Regions from separate parts of the Homo sapiens genome. Here region 2 is linked to region 1. Evidence: promoter capture Hi-C in 16 types of primary human blood cells and fetal thymus (Javierre and others, 2016). All regions are on one chromosome and are shown on one strand. The core of a region is centred on a gene start or on the middle of the fragment in contact, and the rest is flanking DNA. Distances in the headings are between cores, read along the strand shown.

What was found. Contacts are between HindIII fragments. The CHiCAGO score rates a contact against its expected background, and 5 or more counts as called.
Region 2: a contact is called between a fragment that was not itself captured here and the fragment with the promoter of USP14 in region 1, in 4 of 17 cell types (M1 macrophages, monocytes, total CD4 T cells and 1 more). The highest score is 6.9, in M1 macrophages.

Annotation. Positions count from the first base shown.
Region 1 is chr18:157,193-160,099 of GRCh38, forward strand. It overlaps USP14 (ubiquitin specific peptidase 14), which reads left to right and starts at 1,365. Exons shown (of 16, transcript NM_005151.4): 1 at 1,365-1,522. The coding sequence starts at 1,507. It overlaps LOC105371951 (a long non-coding RNA gene), which reads left to right. Exons shown (of 4, transcript XR_935081.2): 4 at 951-977. RefSeq lists silencers at 1,037-1,306, 1,577-1,756. The HindIII fragment of the contact is 8,571 bases long and covers 341-2,907 here.
Region 2 is chr18:620,420-623,326 of GRCh38, forward strand. All of the region lies in intron 4 of CLUL1 (clusterin like 1), which reads left to right. It overlaps LOC105371952 (a long non-coding RNA gene), which reads right to left. Exons shown (of 7, transcript XR_935082.4): 7 at 233-2,907. Among named protein-coding and RNA genes, the nearest start is that of CLUL1, 25 kb to the left of the region's middle. The HindIII fragment of the contact is 4,727 bases long and covers 1-2,907 here.

The DNA.
Region 1 (2,907 bases), core at 115-2,614:
GATGCTAAAGTTTGGGGTAGCTGTGGCAATTTCTTAAAATAAGACAATAATGAAATCTGCCACGTCGATTGACTCTTCCTTTCATGAAAGTTTTCCCTGTGACATGCAGTGCTGTTCAGCATTTTACCCACAGAAGAACTTTCAAATTTGAATTTCTTTCAAAATTAGAGTCAATCCTGTCAAATTCTGCTGCTGTTTTATCAACAGTTCCATAGTTTATGATATTCTAAATCCTTTGTTGTCATTCAACAGTGTTCACAGCGTCTTCACCAGGAGTAGTTTCCATCTCAAGAAACCACTTTCTTTGCTTATCCATAAGAAGCGACTCCTTGCCCATTAAAGCTTTGTCTTGAGATTGCAGCAATTCAGTCACATCTGTGGGCTCCACTTCTAATTCTAGTTCTCTTGCTATTGCCACCACACCTGCAGTTGTGTCCTGAACTCAAGCCTTGAACCCTTGTGGGAAAAGACTTGTTGCCAGAGCAGTCAGAATACACAAAACATTGGAGTTAGCTGTTTTACACGGGGGTGGTTAGTGGCACCCCAAAACAACTAAAATAGTAATCATAGATCACTGGAACAGATATAATAGTATTTAAAAAGTTCAAAATATTGTGAGAATTACCAAAATGTGACACAGAGACACGAAGTGAGCACATGCTGTTAGAAAAACAGAACTGATGGACTTACTAACCCAGGGTTGCCACAAACCTTCAATTTATATATATATATATATAAATATATATAAATATATAAATATATATAAATATATAAAAATATATAAATATATAAAAATATATAAATATATATATATAGAACGCAATAAAATGAGGTGTGGGTGAAAAGAAAACTGAGGTTTGCAGACATCATACAGCTAGCTAGTAACAGCTGGGTTTCAAAACACCTCTGACTTTACAACCACTAATTTTATTTATTTTATTTTGAGGCAGGGTCTCGCTCTGTCGCCCAGGCTGGAGTGCGGTGGCACGATCACAGCTCACTGCAGCCTCGACCTCCTGGGCTCAAGCGATTCTCCCGCCTCAGCCTCAGACAGCAGGTGGGATACCAAGTTCCCACTTCATCTGCCGCAGGGCTGGGCCGCGCCAGGACCACGTGGCCAGTGCGCGCAGGGCGATGGGCGGCAGTGCGCAGGCGCGCACCTGCTGCGGTGGATGGGGCCCCGCGCCCGTCCCTCACTTGCTCCCTCCTTCCTTCCCGCCACCCCTCCACCGCCTTCCCCCTCCTCCCTCCTCTCGCCACCTCTAGGCCCCGCCCCGGTCCTGCCGCCCAGTCTCCTCGCTGCAGTCGCTCCGGAGCTGCACGGGTGTTTTGCGTGTTGCTGCGTCATCGCCAGTGGCCGGTTTGAATGAGACTCGTCGCACCGAAGCCGCCGCCACCACCGCGCCTCCGCCTCGGCCGCCGCCGCAGCTGCTCCTGGTCCCCGTCCCTTTGCCGCCCTCGTCAGGCCCAGCTCTCCTGCGCCGCCGCCTCCCGCCGCGCCCCGCCATGCCGCTCTACTCCGGTGAGCCCTGTCCTGGCCTCGCGCGCAGCACACCGGACCGGCGCTAGGCCTCCGCGTAGGCCTGGCCTGCACGGGCGGGCACCCGGCATGGACTGGGAGGGGCCGGGGTGGGGTGCGCGGGGCCGGCGGCGCGGAGATGACCCAGGCACCGTCCCCTCTCCCGGCTGGGTCGGAGCCCTGCGTGGCAGGGGAGCGCCGTCCCCCTGAGCCACCGATGGGTGGGGGGAGTGGAGATGGGGAAGCCTCTCAAAGTCGTGACTCTGCAGAATAGTTTCTGACGCTGCCCTGGTGTGCGGTGAAAGTGAGGGTGTGTCCTGGGGCGCTGGGCCAGGCTGGAGGTGCAGGGAGATTCCTTTGGGCTTCTCAGTGGTCGCCGTGGAAGGGAGCGGGGAAGAAGGGGAGGGATGGAGCGACCCTTCTTGGGGTTGCCAAGCGGCGTTCGCCGCCCTTCGTCGTCCTTCGCCCTTCTCTTGCCCCTTGCCTTTGTTCGACCGCCCCTTTGGTACCAGTTTTAGTTTTGTCCCGAGGCAGATTGTAAACCTTTTTGCTTCGTTTTCGTTTCATCAAACGTTGCATTGGATTTCTGTATCCGAAACGTGGTGTGAGCTTTCAGAAGTAGATGAATACACATATCCCCGGGGTGTCATTTCTTGATTGGCGTTTGACAGGGGCTTGTATTGTTTGCTTGCTGACAGTCCAGGGTACTGGCCAGGGATCACTTTTACTTAGGGAATGGACCTTGCTGCTCCCTAGCCTTATTCAAAATGGCACCTAAAATATGTGTGGTGTCTCCAATTGGCTGTAGGTGTGTGATTCGTTGACCATCCCTGTTTATTCTGTTACAGTTCCTTTATTGAAGATTCAGCATTTACAAAGCATGATACGAATCAAGAGTATTGTTTGATCTCAAGGTGGATTCTTGATGGTCTAGAATCTTGAATCGAATTCTTAATGATTGCCCAACCCCTTTCTAAAGCCATAACAACAGTAGAATGGCTCTTGAAATATTCTAATACTTAAACACACCAGTAGATTCACACACATAAAACAAAACCCCTCTGTTTCCTCAAAATGCCAGCGCTGACCAGAGTTTCTTTTTTAAAATTTGAGCTTTATCTTAAATATTTAATCAGATCTTTTCCTCATCCCCCAAATGAAGGAACTCAAGTAGATTTCTAAGGTCCCTTCCTTTGACCTCTCCATATTGAGAATCTGTATTTTGAGGGTCAGCAAAAAGCTCTATATTAAAATGAAGAGAACATTTTAAGTACTATTTCATAAGATTTAGTAGAAAATTAAGTATCTAGTCTGAGCGCGGTGGCTCACGCCTGTAATCCCAGCTCTTTGGGAGGCTCGAGGCGGGCGGATCACTTGAGGTCAGGAGT
Region 2 (2,907 bases), core at 200-2,699, 460 kb after region 1:
TTTAGTTAAAACTAGATAATAAAATCCATCAGTCTACCTGAGTTCTCTTACATGGCAACTCATTACAATTGGGTGCATGTGAACAGAGCAAGGGAACTATAGTTGATTCTTCTGGAATGTAGAGGATCCCCTTTTCCCCAAGGTCATCACATACAGTTGGGCACACACAGTATCTGACATATGCATCTCAAGAGAGTACCATGTATATCCAATAATGCATCAGCCTAATCACTTTTTCAAATTCAAATAGCTTTATTTAACAGCTATAGCTTGAATTACATATTTTATCAATGGAGAATACATATTATATTCAAATGTCTTTGGAAGATGTAAAAAATTGTTCATATGCCACAGTATAAAGTTCAGTAAATTTCTAAATTATAGACATTGAATAGCTTGCAGTTTAATGACATTAATAATTAACATCACACTCAAAACAATGACTTTTTTAAAAAAGGTTATCTTCAAACATTACCCTTAAATCAAAGAGGAAATTAAAACTGTAACAAAAATAATTTGGAAAATATTTTCAATTTTAATGTTGAGAGTAAATTACTTTTTAAATTTATTTTTATTTTTTGAAAAATGTTAAGTTGTAAAATACATATAACAAAATTTACCATCATAACCATTTTTAAGTGTAACGTTCAGTAGTGTTAAATACATTCATACTGTTGTGCAACCAATCTCCAGAATTATTTTCATCTTGCAAAAACTGAAAGTCTATACATATTAAACAATGCCCCATTCCCCCCACCCCAGTCAGATTTTTAATTTAAAAATACAAGTGGAAGTTCTAATATTTTCTATCTATCCCTCTATCTATAAAGTTGGGGGCCACTGAATTCCAGATTGCTGCTTACATCTTTTTACTTCTGAGGATCATGGCCTCTGGGAGTCCGTTAAGCAACTGGAGCCGGGTAGTGTGACAGGCTGACCCCAAAGCTGTGTGTCAGCGTCACCGGACTGGTTGATGTTGCAGCCTCACCTACTGCCCTGAGTCAGTCAGGGTTCTGGCAAGGAAAGGAGAATGCCTGACCAGCAGCTGCAAACCCTTCTCCCTTTTGGCAGCAATCAAAAGATTTTGAGGAAATCTAAAATAGCTCCTCATCAGGAAAATGTGGAAGCCCCTCCAGCTGGGATCTTCCCTGGTGGGCTTGTGAGCCTGGCCATCTGGGAATAGAGACACTAGATAGCACTCATACACTCTTCACAAAACACATTATCACATGGAATGTTTTGAACATCTGGGTAAACCACTACTTTCATTTTATAGCTAAGAAAACTGGGGTTTGAGATGTTTGTTAATTAACATGTTACTCCAACACTGTAATGAATGAACTGAGATAAAGTCAGCAGATGTGTGCACGGGGGACCCAGTGATTTTCCGCTTTTCTCACTTCCCTGAACCTCCTGGCAAGGAGGACAGGGTATACAGCTTTAACAAGAATATTCCACTTTGGGTGGGTCAAGTAAGCAAATGTGGATTTCACTTCTGGCCCTGAAGAATCCAAGCAACTAGTAGAATTTTTGTTTATTCTTAAAAATCTTATTGTACAAAAATTCATTGAATTATACTCTTAAGTTTGAGGCACTCAATTAGAAAGTTAATCGGAAAAAAAAAATCTGTTTAACCCTGAGTATCCCTCCCTAAAATTACTTAAAGCCTAGAATAAAGGTCAGTTTAGACAAATTATGAATTGGCAAATATGGTGTTAGCAACCCTAGTCTCCCAGTATTGAGCCCCACCCATTCTCAAGAGTACTGCTCAGTGGTGACCCAGCATCCTCACTGTCCCCTTCCTCCACCCCTCCTTATTAATATTTAGTGAGACTATCTGAAACTTATTAAGTAGGAAACCCTAGAGAAGGTTAGAGTGACTTGACCTCCAAATCAGGTTTTATTTGTATGTGTTTTTAATGAAATGGGGTCTTGCTATGTTGCTCAGGCTGGTCTTGAACTCCTGGGCTCAAGGGATCCTCCTGCCTCACTTCCCGAGTAGCTGGGATCACAGGCACTAGCCACCATGCCTGGCTCAATGCCAGGTTAATATAGCGCTTTTGATAAACTGTCATCTATAGGAATAGAGTTATAAGCGTGAATCTGCCAGTTGGTACAATGTCTAGCAGGAAACGGAAGGCGTCGATAGGATATTCCTTAGGAATGTTTACTAGACAGAGGTCTACTTCTTCCATGGCAATGTTTCACTTCCAAAACTTGGGACCTGTGATTTGGTAACTGTTTTTTGTCCTGCTTCTGGGCAGTGAATGGAAGGAAGCCTGAGAGATACTAGTTATTATACTGGACTAGTTATAATAACAGATGTCTTGCCTATGATAATGGATACTAGGTATAATAATAGATGCCTTGCTTGTTTAGCTCATTTAATGCAAAGACCTTGAGAAGTAGATACTGTTATTCCTATTATTCTTATTTGCAAATGAGGAGACTAAGGCTTATATGTATTAAGTAATTTGCCCAAGGGTACACAGCCACTGTAGTTTGGAATTGGGAATATTAGGATTTTGGCTTATGAGGACAATGAGCAGAATATGTAAAATTGGGACTGATTGAGAAAATCCTGGAGGTATTGTTACTTGCCTTGGAGAAACAACTTTTTTTTTTTTTTTGAGACAGAGTCTTACTCTTGTTGCCCAGGCTAAAGGACAATGGCACGATCTTGGCTCACTGCAACCTCCGCCTCCTGGGTTCAAGCGATTCTCCTGCTTCAGCCTCTGAAGTGGCTGGGATTACAGGCACCCACCATCATGACCAGCTAATTTTTGTATTTCTAGCAGAGACAGGGTTTTACTATGTTGGCCAGGCTGTTCTCAAACTCCTGACATCAGGTGATCCACCCGCCTCAGCCTCCCAAAATGCTGGAATTACAGGTGTGAGCCACTGCAC